Linked DNA regions of Homo sapiens: region 1 is linked to region 2. Evidence: promoter capture Hi-C in human tissues and cell types (Jung and others, 2019). All regions are on one chromosome and are shown on one strand. The core of a region is centred on a gene start or on the middle of the fragment in contact, and the rest is flanking DNA. Distances in the headings are between cores, read along the strand shown.

The links. Contacts are between HindIII fragments. The study calls those that stand out against the background at their distance.
Region 1: the fragment with the promoter of ZNF554 here is called in contact with a fragment that was not itself captured in region 2 in 2 of the 25 tissues and cell types used here (aorta and dorsolateral prefrontal cortex).

What each region holds. Positions count from the first base shown.
Region 1 is chr19:2,815,756-2,823,234 of GRCh38, forward strand. ZNF554 (zinc finger protein 554) reads left to right here and starts at 4,113. Exons shown (of 5, transcript NM_001102651.2): 1 at 4,113-4,369; 2 at 7,285-7,357. The coding sequence starts at 4,317. THOP1 (thimet oligopeptidase 1) reads left to right here. Exons shown (of 13, transcript NM_003249.5): 13 at 1-52. RefSeq lists a silencer at 4,152-4,591 and an enhancer at 4,524-5,217. The HindIII fragment of the contact is 22,652 bases long and covers 1-7,479 here.
Region 2 is chr19:2,274,035-2,281,059 of GRCh38, forward strand. It overlaps PEAK3 (PEAK family member 3), which reads right to left. Exons shown (of 4, transcript NM_198532.3): 2 at 6,816-6,901; 3 at 4,550-5,079; 4 at 597-2,455. The coding sequence starts at 6,897. The coding sequence ends at 1,646. Among named protein-coding and RNA genes, the nearest start is that of PEAK3, 4.6 kb to the right of the region's middle. RefSeq lists enhancers at 73-212, 1,017-1,951. The HindIII fragment of the contact is 7,382 bases long and covers 540-7,025 here.

The sequences.
Region 1 (7,479 bases), core at 2,863-5,362, 540 kb after region 2:
GCTGCTCCCCAGTGGAAAAAAAAGGGGGAAATAAAGAATCGTAAAAAATACATATATTGGAACCTGTATGTTTTGTGATCTTCGCAACATTTCTCTGTAAACTCTCCTTCTTTAGGTTTTTGACAAAACCTGAATGCAGAAGTGGTCTCCTCCCCAGTCACCCGTCCAGCCCCCGTGGGCTGTCCCCAGGTGTCCCTGGCTCTTCATCCCCACAATCCTGTCCCTGCCTGTGCTGCCTCCAACACACGCGCCCCAGGCTTTGTGCCTGTGGTTCCATTTTGGTCCTTCACGAAGTATTTCTCCAACCGAGAAGCTGCTGGGATCTCTGTGGTTGGTGGCCCCGAGCGGCCCCACTCCTCTCAAGGATGATACCAGTGGGGCCGTTGTAGGCAGGCTCCATGCTGCGGGCTGGGCAGGCGCGGTCGTCCCCATCCTCCCCATGGGACTTGTGTTACTGTCCCCGTGTCCCAGATGGGGCATCTCAGGAGCAGAGCCAGCGTCCCCCCTCCTCTCCCCAATGAGCAACACCGGCTGAAGGCCACAGCCTTGAAAGGGACAGGGGCCTCACTCTCCAGGGCTGTCCCTACTTCAAGGGACAAAATGTTTTGTGAAACTCAGTTCGATTCTGAGATTAATGGCCAGCTTGCGGGTGGTTTGAGCCCTGGGCTGGAAGGCAGGAGGTCTGGGTTCAAGTCTCCAGGTAGACAGGGCCCAGGGATGAGTTCCAGCATGGGCTAGGGGCCAGGGTGCTGCCCACGTGGCTCCCTGGGGAACTGGGCTCCCTGTGGCCATGCAGAGAGCTTTCTGGCTTTTCCAGGCTGCACCAGACCGGTGTGATGCTCTCCTCTTCAGACCCCAGACTGCCCTTGTGTGTTCCCTCTTGCCCCATCCTCAGCTCAGGAGGTCAGGGAGACGGAGCTCTGTCCCAAAGGCCATCCTGTGCCCCCGGCCACCTCTCATCGTTGGTTTGCGGATGGGCTGGTGACCTATTTTGGAGCACCTACATCAGTGCCGTCCTCCAGTCTGACTCGGTTTGAACGATTAGAGAATTTTATTTTTCCCTGAACTTGAAATTGGGAGGAGGGAATGCTGTCGGCACGTGGAGGTGCTTGGAGTGGGGCCTGCCAACCCGGAGGACGCTACGGCTGTGATGAAGGCTACCCCACTACATCGTCCAAGCACCTCCAACCCAGTTTACGGTGGGGTCCGGACCTGCCCCTGAACTTGGCGGTTATGTGAGCCTATAAATTCCCAGTTATTATTTATGTTTTTATTGGCTGGGCACAGTGGCTCACACCTGTAATTCCAGCACTTTGGGAGGCTGAGGCAGGCAGATCACTTGAGGCCAGAAGTTCAAGACCAGCCTGGCCAATATGAGGAAACCCCGTCTCTACTAAAAAATACAAACATTTAGTCAGACGTGGTGGCCCTTGCCTTAGTCGGTGTGAGAACTGACTAATGCAATTAGTGAGACTATATTATGAACCTTTATAGTGTTAGAAATAAATTTTCGGTGCCACAAAAGAAACAGCACTCGAACATTAATTTTCTCAGCACGGCAATTTTACTTCTATAGAAGGGTGCGTCTGGCAGGTGGAGCCCAGCGCCGCGCTGCGGGGCCTGCTGGGACTTGTAGTTCACAGGCTCAGGGTGCGCAGGCGCAATGCCGAGTTTGCCTCTGCGCGAGTCGGGGTTGGCGGCGCCTGAACGAGCACACCTGAACGAGGGAGGAGAAGGGGTTCTTACCCCTGACGCAGGTACCCCTACTGCTGTGTTGTTCCCCTATTGGCTAGGGTTGGCCCGCACAGTCTAAGCTGATTCTGATTGGCTGTTTTAAAGAGCAGGGGTATGAGCCAGAGTGGCGGGGTGAGTAGTTTGGCAGGAAGGACGGCTACAGAAAAGGTGACTCAGAATGACTAAGAACAGAGCAGGTGACCAAGGATAACTAAGGTCAGAGCAGGTGACAAGGGTGACTAAGAACAGAGCAGGTGACCAAGGATAACTAAGGTCAGAGCAGGTGACAAGGGTGACTAAGAACAGAGCAGGTGACCAAGGATAACTAAGGTCAGAGCAGGTGACCAAGGATAACTAAGGTCAGAGCAGGTGACCAAGGATGACTAAGGTCAGAGCAGGTGACAAGGGTGACTAAGAACAGAGCAGGTGACCAAGGATAACTAAGGTCAGAGCAGGTGACCAAGGATAACTAAGGTCAGAGCAGGTGACCAAGGATGACTAAGGTCAGAGCAGGTGACAAGGGTGACTAAGGTCAGAGCAGGTGACCAAGGATGACTAAGGTCAGAGCAGGTGACAAGGGTGACTAAGAACAGAGCAGGTGACCAAGGATAACTAAGGTCAGAGCAGGTGACAAGGGTGACTAAGGTCAGAGCAGGTGACCAAGGATAACTAAGGTCAGAGCAGGTGACCAAGGATGACTAAGGTCAGAGCAGGTGACAAGGGTGACTAAGAACAGAGCAGGTGACCAAGGATAACTAAGGTCAGAGCAGGTGACAAGGGTGACTAAGAACAGAGCAGGTGACCAAGGATGACTAAGGTCAGAGCAGGTGACCAAGGATAACTAAGGTCAGAGCAGGTGACAAGGGTGACTAAGAACAGAGCAGGTGACCAAGGATAACTAAGGTCAGAGCAGGTGACAAGGGTGACTAAGAACAGAGCAGGTGACCAAGGATAACTAAGGTCAGAGCAGGTGACAAGGATGACTAAGGTCAGAGCAGGTGACCAAGGATGACTAAGGTCAGAGCAGGTGACCAAGGATGACTAAGGTCAGAGCAGGTGACAAGGATGACTAAGGTCAGAGCAGGTGACCAAGGATGACTAAGGTCAGAGCAGGTGACCAAGGGTGACTAAGGTCAGAGCAGGTGATAGGGGCTAGGAGGGGTTGTTTACTGAAACTAGGGGCAAGGAAACGAAAAGAACGAGGAAGTTAAAGTTTAAAATGAAGAACAAAGAATAGGTGGCCGGGCGCGGTGGCTCACGCCTGTAATCCCAGCACTTTGGGAGGCTGAGGCAGGCGGATCACGAGGTCAGGAGATCGAGACCATCCTGGCTAACACGGTGAAACTCCGTCTCTACTAAAAATACAAAAAAATTAGCCGGGCGTGGTGGCGGGCGCCTGTGGTCCCAGCTGCTTGGGAGGCTGAGGCAGGAGAATGGCGTGAACCTGGGAGGCGGAGCTTGCAGTGAGCCGAGATCGCGCCGCTGCACTCCAGCCTGGGCGACAGAGCGAGACTCCATCTCAAAAAAAAAAAAAAAAAGAACAGGGGAGCTGAATATACGGAAACATTGGTTCTTTGGAGAGGAGCTCATAACTGATTGTACTTAACAATTTACAGGCTAAAACCTTTGAAGAGGAATTTGTTGTATCCTACAACAGTATATTAATTATAGTAGTTTTACTATTTTAATTTCTCATAAATAACAATCAGTAGAATATTAAATAAATATTTAAACAATAATTTAATTTGGCTGGGCGTGGTGGCTCACGCCTGTAATCCCAGCACTTTGGGAGGCCAAGGCGGGCAGATCACTGGAAGTCAGGAGTTCGAGACCAGCCTGGCCAACATGGTGAAACCGCGTCGCTACCAAAAATATAAAAAATTAGCCGAGTGTGGTTGTGCACGCCCGTAATCCCAGCTACTTGGGAGACTGAGGCAGGATAATCGCTTGAACCCGAGGGGGCGGAGGTTTCAGTGACCTGAGATCATGCCATTGCACTCCAGCCTGGGCGACAAGAGCGAAACTCAGTCTCAAAAACAAACAACAATTACTTAAGCAATCATTTTAATAAGTATGTAATACATTATACGTTTATATAACTTGCTTAATAAATAATAGTAGTTATTAATATCCAATGGCAAGCCGCCGGGAAACGACGGAGCTGGGATTTGAGGATTGGCTCCGCGAACCCCACAACACCCGGGGACTCCAGCGAACCACACGGGGTGGATCCAACAGCCGCAGGGGCATCGTGGTCCTGCGGAGACGCCGCCCGCCCGGAGGCGGCGCTGTGACCCAGGTTGGAGAGTCAGGAGCCCAGCGCCGCGCTGCGGGGCCTGCTGGGACTTGTAGTTCGCAGGTTCGGGGTGCGCAGGCGCAGTGCCGAGTTTACCTCTGCGCGCGTCGGGGTTGGTGGCGGCGGCTGCGGCGAGTTCCTGAGGGGCGCCTGCGGGGGGCGTCCGCTCCGAGCGCCGAGGAGCCGAGCGGAGGAGGCGTCCCAGGGACACGCAGGGGAGGCCGGCCGGCCTGCACGGGGCGCTCCCGCCTCGGGGGCCCTGTCTGGCGCCTCAGCGCGCGCCCCGATGGTCACCTGCGCCCACCTGGGCCGGCGCGCGCGGCTCCCGGCAGCTCAGCCGTAAGTGCCGCCGCCTCCCGCGCCGCGACCTCCGTGCCGGGCCTGCCGGGGCTCTGGTGGGGCTGGGTCTGGCGGGGCCGGGTGGCCGGGGCATGACCCTGTCGCGATAGGGTCCCCACGGGAGGGTCGGGAGCCGGCAGCTCGCCCAGGGCCCCAACGCCCAGGATGGCACGGTCTGCCCTTGCCCTGTGAAAACGCCCCTGGGTGAGAGACGCATAAGCTTTCCGAGGCCCAGCCTGCAAGGAGAGGGAGAAGACGCATTGACTCTACCCTAAAGGCAGAGAGGGGCTGCCACGCTCGCACTGCAGTGAGGCCACATCAGAGGGTCTGAGCGAGGGGCGGTCCTGCCCTCCAGGGGACACCGGGCGATGTCTGGGGACGTCTGTGGTTGTCATAACTGGGGGCAGTTCCTGGCATGGAGTAGGTGGAGGCCAGGGATGCAACTCAGCACCCTGCCCAGCCCAGAGAATGACCCAGGCTCCAGTGTCCACAGCGCCCTGAGGGAGAGACCTCACTTATACGTTAGCACCGCTGTCCTGGTGATAAGACAGCAAGGGTCCTTTTTTTTTTTTTTTTGAGACGGAGTCTGGAGTGCAATGGCATGATCTCGGCTCACTGCAACCTCCGCCTCCCGGGTTCAAGCCATTGTCCTGCCTCAGCCTCCCAAGTAGCTGGGATTACAGGCGTATGCCACCACGCCCGGCTAATTTTTGCATTTTTAGTAGAGACGGGGTTTCACCATGTTGGCCAGGCTGGTCTCGAACTCCCACCTCAGGTGATCCACCCGCCTCAGCCTCCCAAAGTGCTGGGATTACAGGCGTGAGCCACCGCGCAGCTGCAAGGGTCTATTCTGTTTATACCCACCACCCATGTTGAGGAATGAGGGAGGCAGCTGACCTTTCTGCTGCTCTAGCAACCCCAACCTCCCTGAACTCTCCCCTACCCAAACAGGTTGGTTTCTTTTTCTTCTTCTTTTTTTTTTCTTGAGACAGTCTCGCCCTATTGCCCAGGCTGGAGTGCAGTTGCACGATCTCGGCTCACTGCATCCACCTCGTGGGTTCAAGTGATTCTCCTGCCTCAGCCTCCCAAGTAGCTGGGATTACAGGTGCACGCCACCCCGCCTGGCTAATTTTTATATTTTTAGTAGATACAGAGTTTCTCCATGTTGGCCAGCCAGGCTGGTATCGAACTCCTGACCTCAGGTGATCCACCTACCTCGGCCTCCCAAAGTGACCACTGCGCCCGGCGCCTTTGGTTCTTACATGAGCCTCCTGGAGCTGCTGTGACAATGCACCACAAACCAGGGGGCAGGGGGAGGCTTGAAATTTATTCTCTCACAAGTCTGGAGGCCAGAAGCCCAACATGAAGATGTGGTGGGGCCGTGGTGCTTCTGAAGGCTCTGGCGGGAGGATCTTCTCTGTCTCTTCCAGCTTCTGGGGGTGGCCTGCCATAGTTGGTGTCCCTTGGCTTGGGGCCACATCACTCCAAGCTCTGCCTGCATCATCATGTGGCCTTCTTCCCTGTGTCTCTTTCTCCTTTTTTGTTTTTATTTTTATTTTTTGAGATGGGGTCTCGGTCTGTCACCTGGCTGGAGTGCAGTGGCACGATCTCGGCTCACTGCAATCTCTACCCCACAGGATCAAGCAATTCTGCCTCAGCCTCTCGAGTAGCTGGGATTACAGGTGCACGCCACCACACCCAGCTAATTTTTGTATTTTTAGTAGAGACGGGGGTTTTGCCATGTTGGCCAGGCTGGTCTCGAACTCCTGACCTCGTGGTCTGCCCGCCTTGGCCTTTCAAAATGCTGGGATTACAGACGTGAGTCACCTAGTCCAGCTGTCTCTTTCTCTTATAAGGACAATACTCATGACCCCAGTAGCTGGAAGAGGCGGAAGGATTTTTCCTGAGAGCTTTTGTTTCTTCTTTTCCTTATCTTTTCTTTTTGAGATAGAGTCTTGCTCCATTGCCCAGGCTGGAGTGCAGTGGCACAGTCTTGGCTCACTGTAACCCCTGTCTCCCAGGTTCAAATAATTATCGTGCCTCAGCCTCCTGAGTAGCTGGGTTTACAGGGATGTGCCACCACACCTGGCTATTTTTTTTGTATTTTTAGTAGACGAGGTTTCACCATGTTGGCCAGGCTGGTCTTGAACCCCTGGGCTCAAGTGATCCTCGCGCCTCAGCCTCCCAAAGTGCTGGGATTACAAGTATGAGCCACCATACCCGAGCTTTTCCCTAGAGCCTTCAGAGGGAGTACAGCCCTGCCCACACCTTGATCTCAGACTTCCAGAACTGGGAAAGGATATATTCCTGTTATTTTAAGCCCCCGGGTTACTGGCACCTTGTGAAAACAGCCTCAGGAAATGCATGGAGCGCTTCACTTCCTAATGGAGCCTGGGTGTTTTGTAAACTTGTTTGCTTCCAAGGGCCTCAGGACCTTCATCCATAAAATGGGGCCTTTAAGACCCCTGGCCATGGATGTGTGTGGCGTCTCACACCTTTAATCCCAGAATTTAGGGAGGCTGAGGAAGGTGGATCCCTTGAGCCCAGGAGCTATAGACCTGGGACAACATAGCAAGGCCCCGTCTCTACAGAAAATACAAAAAATTAGCCGGACATGGTGGTGCCTGTAGTTCCAGCCACAGGCTGAGGTAGGAGGATAGCTTGAGCCCAGGAGGTTGAAGCTGCCATGAGATGAGCTATGATTGCACCACTGCACTGCAGCCTGGGCAACGGAGGGAGACCCTATCTCTTAAAAAACACAAACCCTGGCTTCAGTCCTGGGTTCTGGCTTCAGTTTACCTCCCTCTGTGTATGGGGGGCCCCTTCAAGCAAATGGAGGTTCTCCAGGCCAAGGGCTCTGGGATCTGGGGACTGGCCTGGATCTGGTATTCGCAGCGCCTTTTTCCTCCCCACAGCTCTGCCTGCCCAGGAACCTGCTTTTCCCAAGAGGAGAGAATGGCTGCTGGGTACCTGCCCCGCTGGTCCCAGGTGAGATGTCCTCATTCTCCCAAAGGGCACCCAGTATATCCAGAGGGAACAATCCCACCAGAAACTCAGTCCTCGATAGAGGAGACCCCTTGCTATGTGAAAGTTCAGGAGAATTCCCCAGG
Region 2 (7,025 bases), core at 2,981-5,480:
GGTGGGGTCGGCCGGGAGGACAAACCTGGACACAGATACCCCCAGCTCATTTGGGCAGCGCAAATGCAGAGAAGGGGCATTAGAGCTGAGGCCATGCAGGATGAATAGGAGTATGAAGCAGAGTAGAGGGGGCTGTTTTCTGGTGTAAAAAACAACTTGGGCAAAGGCGTGGAGGCTGGAAAGTAACCTCCAGGGATGAACGACATGGGGTTGGAGACTCTGAGGAGACTTTGGAAGAGCCCTGTATGTATTCTGAGGCACTGGGGAGCCATGGGAGGTGTTTGAGCTGGAGAGGGACCTCATATCTGGGGTTGGAAAGATCCTCCCAGGACTGCCATGGGGAATGGAATGGAGGGGCAACTCTGAGTCTCCAGGAAGGAAGCCACAGGCAAGGGCAGTGCAGTGTGTCAGAGGCATAAAGGAAGACTCCATCCCCCTCCAGTGAGTCTCCTCTGTGCCTGTTTATTACATCATCCTGTGGTATTAAGTGAGCACCTACTGTGTGCCAAGCCTGGCCTTTGCCCCCAGGGAACTCACAGCCTTGTGGACAGTAACAGAGGAATAAATGCTCCTGAGAGTGGGCGGAGAACGCAGGGTAAGGAGCTAGCGATGGCCCAGAGTGGGCACCTTTATTTGTTTAGAGAAAGTGAAACTGTAGCCGGGCGCGGTGGCTCACGCCTGTAATCCCAGCACTTTGGGAGGCCGAGGCGGACGGATCACGAGGTCAGGAGATGGAGACCATCCTGGCTAACACGGAGAAACCCCGTCTCTACTAAAAATACAAAAAATTAGCCGGGCGTGGTGGCGGGCGCCTGTAGTCCCAGCTACTCGGGAGGCTGAGGCAGGAGAATGGCGTGAACCCGGGAGGCGGAGCTTGCAGTAAGCCGAGATCGTCTCAAAAAAAAAAAAAAAAAAAAAAGAAAAAGAAAGTGGAACTGGAACAGTATGGCAGAGGGAACAGCCTACACAAATGCTTGGGGGCGCGAAAGAAGTTGGTGTGTCACGGAGGAACAGGGAGGGAGGCAGGGTGGGCGCAGAGGGATTGAGGGGAGGTGGCAGGGAACCGCGGGGACTGTTTTAGGGAAGGTGAGTCCAGACCCCGCTGAGATGAGCTGGGTGTCTAAGGTCCCAGGGAGCCTTCCCTTCCCGTGACACCACCAAGCAATTCTCCACCAGGGACAGGGGCATTCACATGCCCAAAATCACTGGCCATCTTCAGCACAAGGGGGTGCTCCAGAGCCAGGAATGCCTCTGGTCCCGGCATTGGCCTCTCATGGAGACAATGACAGAACCCACGCGGAAGAGCGCCCTGGCTGCTGGGGAAGGCAGAACACAGAGAGACATTGATCAGCGGGGTTGTCCACACCTGGAAGTGGCGTGGGGGCCCTGGCTTCAGAGAGCTGCTGCCCAACACAGGAGGCGCTGGCCAGCCCCCAGCCCTGGAGGGGCAGCTGCATTCCTGGGAAGCCCTTGACCCACATCCCCAGCACGGGAGGGGAGGCTCTGGAGTGGGGCATTGCTCTCTCTGCTGCGCTCCTGGACTCTGCAGGAAGAGGGTGTCTTGGCTATCATGGAGACGCTGACCTCAGCCCCAGCCCTGCCTCCTGGGCAGGCCTGGACCAGGTGTGTTCGCCCTGGGTTGGGGTCAGTCCCACAGCAGCGCCAGGGCCTGGCCCATCGAGGACTCGGTGGCCTCGGCCAGGTATTCGCAACACAGCCAGTCCTCGAGGCTGGGAGCTTCCCCACCTGCGGCCCGCTCTGCTAGGCGCAGGACCAGCAGCCCGCGGCGCACCCGCAGCCAGGGCCCGAGCGCTCGGAGCCAGGGACCAAGCGGTGCTCCGCGGCCGCGCAGCTCAGGCCCGGGCCCCCAGAGCAGCGCCTGCAGCGCGCCCCGCGTCCGGGACGCCGAGGGCCGCAAGCGGGTCAGCTGTGCTGCCAGGAGCTCCAGGCCCGCGGCCAAAGGCGTGGTCGAGGGCGCAGCAAGGCTGAGCAGCGCTCGGAGGAGGCTGCCCAGCTGCGGCGCGTGGGGGCCCGGGGATCCCGGGGGTCCAGGGGGCTGCAGACAGACGCGGCCAAAGTCAGTGAGGAGCAGGCGTGGGGGCCCCGTCGTCGCACAGCCCCGAGGTGCCACCAGCAGCAAGTTCTCCGGCCGCAACTCGACTAGGGCCGCGCCCCACGCCTCCAGGAACTTCAGGGCCGCGCTCAGCTGCAGCAGCAGCAGGGCCACAGCCCACACGAACTCCTCCGGCGGCTGCGTGCAGGCCTCCGCCAGCCACTGCGCCACCGTGCGCTCTGGAACCTCGGCTGCCAGCGCCACTGCGCCTCTCCAGGGCGCCCCGGGCAGTGTGCCTTCAGGCACCAGGCCACACAGCCCCTGCAGATTGAAGTGTGGAGACAGGGAGGCCTGCAGCTCCAGGCCCCACGGGTGGGGCACGTCCGCCCCGGGCTTGGGCACCTGCAAGGCAGAGGGGGTGTCGGGGCCTGGATCACTGGGCCCCCCACAAGCACCGCCTGCCCCAGTGCTACCTGCCCCGAAGCCTCCCACGCACACCCCCAAACTGCCCCCACTACGGCTAGGGGCTGCCTGCATCCCTCCAGCAGCAGGAGGTCAGTGTTAATTTGGAAGTTAGTCACCAGTAAGGACTTTCAGGAAAGTTAAGCCAGGGAAGAAGATGTTCCTGGGCAATGAGTTCGAAAGCAGATTCCTGGGCCGGGCGCGGTGGCTCACGCCTTCCCAGCACTTTGGGAGGCAGGGGGATCGCTGAGGTCAGGAGTTCGAGACCAGCCTGGCCAACGCAGGGAACGCTCGTCTCTACTAAAAAATGCAAAACTAGCTGGGCGTGGTGGCGCGCCTGTCATCCCAGCTACTTCGGAGGCTGAGGTGAGAGAATCGCTTGAGCCCGGGAGGTGGAGGTTGCAGTGAGCCGAGAACGCGCCACTGCACTCCAGCCTGGGCAACAGAGTGAGACTCTGTCTCAAAAACAAAAAACAAAACAAAAAACACAAAAGCAGATCCCCGGCCAGAGAGGTGTGGGAGGGGTTTTGACAAGAGCTCCAAGGCCATACCCATGGCCCCATACTTTAGAAACATGGTTTCCTGGGTTAACTGCGTTGATTCACGTGTTAGTTGCAAAATAAACAAGTCTAATATGGTCTGGATCTGTGTCCCCACCAAATCTCATTCCCCAGTGTTGGAGGTGGGGTCTGGTGGGAGGCGACTTGGATCTTGGGGGTGGTTTATCATGAATGGCTCAGCACCATCTCCCTTGGCACTGTCGTTGGGATAACGAGTGAGTTCTCGTGAGATCTGGCTGTGTAAAGGTGAGTAGCACCTCCTCCCTCCCTTCCTCCTGCTCCCACCGTGTGAGATGCCTGCTCCCGCCTCGCCTTCCACTATGATTGGAAGCTTCCTGAGGCCTCCCCAGAAGCAGAAGCCACCAGAACCATGAGCCAATTAAGGCCCTTTTCTCTATAAATTACCCAGTCTCCAGTATTCCTTTTTCTTTTCTTTTCTTTTTTCTTCTCTTTTGTTTTTCTTTTTTGAGACAGAGTCTCACTCTGTCGCCCAGGCTGGAGTGCAATAGCCCAATTTTCGAATCTCAGCTCACTGCAACCTCCGCCTCCCAGGTTCAAGTGATTCTCCTGCCTTAGCCTCCAAGTAGCTGGGACTTCAGGTGCGCACCACCGCGCCCGGCTAATTTTTGTATTTTTAGTAGAGATGGGGGTTTCACTATGTTGGCCAGGCTGGTCTCGAACTCCTGACCTCATGATCTGCCCGCCTTGGCCTTCCAAAGTGCTGAGATTACAGGCGTCAGCCACTGTGCTGCCCAGCCTTTTTTTTTTTTTTTAGACGGAGTCTCGCTCTGTCGCCCAGGCTGGAGCGCAGTGGTGCGTTCTCGGCTCACCGCAAGCTCTGCCCCCTGGGTTCATGCCATTCTCCTGCTTCAGCCTCCCAAATAGCTGGGACTACAGGTGCCCACCACCACGCCCGGCTAATTTTTTGTCTTTTTAGTAGAAACAGGGTTTCACCGTGTTAGCCAGGATGGTCTGTATCTCCTGACCTCGTGATCTGCCCGCCTCGGCCTCCCAAAGTGCTGGGATTACAGGTGTGAGCCACTGTGCCCGGCCTTTTTCTTTTTTTTTTTTTTGAGACGGAGTCTCACTCTGTTGCCCAGGCTGGAGTGCAATGGCCCAATCTTGGCTTACTGCAACCTCTGCCTCCCGGGTTCAAGCAATTCTCCTGCCTCAGTCTCCCAAGTAGCTGGGTTTACAGGCGCCCGCCACCACACCTAATTTTTGTATTTTTAGTAGAGGCTGGGTTTCACCATGTTGGCCAGGCTGGTCTTGAACTCCTGACCTCAGCTGATCCGCCCGCCTTGGCCTCCCAAAGTGCTGGGATGACAGGCGTGAGCCACCGCGCCCGGCTCCAGTATTTCTTTACAGCAGTGTGAGAACTGACTCACAGAAAGGCCAAATGAAACAAGCCCTGGGTTATGTCTAAGATGGGGCACTGGGGACACCTCAGAGAGGGTGGGGCTGTGGGGCTCACCTTGGCGACCAGGATGTGCCAGGCGTCCTCGTGCGCGCGCACCACGCGGTAATACAGGGCGTCCCCGCTCTCTGCGCAGGGTGAGCTGTCTAGGAGGCGGAAGCTGTGGCCGGGGTGGCAGGGCCCGGGGTGGCCCCCCATGAGCCGGGCACGGAGCCGGGCATAGATGGTACGGAGGCCCTGCAGCTGCCGCGCAGCCAGTGCAGTGTGCACAGCCTCCGGGCTGTGCAGATCGCGGAGGGAGAGGCCCAGTGGGGCGTCAGCCGGGCCAAAGGTCAGCTCTGCAGGGAGACAGGCTGGTCCCACTGCAGCCTGGCTCTTGTCCACACTGTGGGACCCCAGAAAGGGTCTCCGAGGCGGCTGTACTTGGATGGAGCTGGGATGGAGGGTCCTGCGGGTGGGCAGTGACTGGGTCCGGGTTAGGATCTTCTTGGGCAGGGGTGGGGGCAGGGGCTCTGGGTTGGTGGAGAGGGACCCAGGGGTCCGGAGGCGGCAGGCCTTGGAGGGCAGCAGGTGGGCACGGATCTGACCTGCAGGGAGAGACAGTGGGGGAGGGTTGAGGACAGGCGGAGTGGGAACGGGACACGTGACTCCACCTCTCAGCCTCGGTTTCCCCATCTCTAACATGGAAGTAATGAGGCTGGGCGCCGGTGGCTCATGCTTGTAATCCCAGCACTTAGGAAGGTGGAAGCCGAGGCAGGAGGATCACTGGAACCTAGGGTTTGAGACCAGCCTGGGCAACATAGTGAGACCCTGTCTCTGCAAAAATTTTTTAAAAATTTGCCGGACGCGGCCATGCACAATGGCTCATGCCTGTAATTCCAGCACTTTGGGAGGCCGAGATGGGTGGATCACGAGGTCAGGAGATCGAGACCATCCTGGCTAACACGGTGAAACCCCGTCTTTACTAAAAATACAAAAAATTAGCCGGGCTTGGTGGTGGGCGCCTGTGGTCCCAGCTACTCGGGAGGCTGAGGCAGGAAAATTGTGTGAACTTGAGAAGTGGAGCTTGCAGTGAACCGAGATTGTGCCACTGCACTCCAGCCTGGGCGGCAGAGCTTACAGAAGGGGAAACTGAGGCTTATAGGAGGATGGATCAGTTTCAGAGAGTGATGCCACCCAGCACTCAGCGACTCCCACTTACCTCCGTGGCTTTGCACAAGCGTCTGTCTTGCTTTTTTTCTTTTTTGAAGTCTTGCTCTGTCGCCCAGCCTGGAGTGCAGTGGCACGATCTCGGCTCACTGCAACCTCCGCCTCCTAGGTTCAAGCGATTCTCCTACCTCAGCCTCCCAAGTAGCTGGGACTACAGGTGCCCGCCCGCCACTATGCCCAGCTAATTTTTGTATTTTTAGTAGAGATGGGGTTTCACCATGTTAGCCAGGCTGGTTTCAAACTCCTGACCTCAGGTGATCTGCCTGACTCGGCCTCCCAAAGTGCTGGGATTACAGGCTTGAACCATTGCACCTGGCCTTTTTTTTTTTTTTTTTTTTTTTTTTTGAGATGGAGTCTCCCTCTGTCGCCCAGGCTGGAGTGCGGTGGCTCAGTCTTGGCTCACTGCACCCTCTGCCTCACAGGTTCAAGCGATTCTCCTGCCTCAGCCTCCCGAGTAGCTGGAATTACAGGCATGCACCACCATGTCTGGCTAATTTTTGTATTTTTAGCAGAGACAGGTTTTGCCATGTTGGCCAGGCTGGTCTTGAACTCCTGGCCTCAAGTGATCCTCCTCCTTGGCCTCCCAAAGTGCTGGGATTAAAGGGTGGGATTACAGGCATGAGTTACCGTGCCCAGCCTCTCTCTCTTTTTAATGGTATATATTTTTTTCTATTTCATGGCTCACTGCAGCCTTGACCTCCTGGGCTCAAGGGATCCTCCCACCTCAGCTTCCCGAGCAGCTGGGACTGCAGGCTCTTGACACCATGTCCATCTCATTTTTTTTGTTTTGTAGAGATGGGGGGCGGGTCTCATTATATTGCCCAGGCCGGTCTTGAACTCCTGGCCTCAAGGGATCCACCTGCCTCAGCCTCCCAAGGTGCTGGGATTACAGGCGTGAGCCACCACGCCCCGCCCACCAACCCACAGGTTATTTTTCAGCCCTGGCCTACTCCGGGCCTTCCCGGAGGTCACTCATTTTACCAGCTGCTGCTGTTCCCAGAGGCCATGGTGCCCGGCAACCTCCTGCCGCTCCCTGCACCCACCTGCCGCTCCCTGCACCCCCCTGCCGCTCCCTGCACCCCCGCAGCCCAGGGCTCCCTGGGGAGCTGCTTACCAAGGTTGCTATACGTGGGCTGAGTCGACCAGGTGGGGTTGTCGGGCTCGGGGGGCTCTGTGGGGGGCTCCGGGCTGCTCATGTTGCTGGGGAAAGGTCAAACGGGGCGTGTGTGGGGTGACCGTGTGCACGCACAGGGCGACATGGGGAGGGGTCCGTGAGTGCTGGGGCCTGGGAGACCGTCGAGGCCTCCTGCTCCAGGGCCCTTGG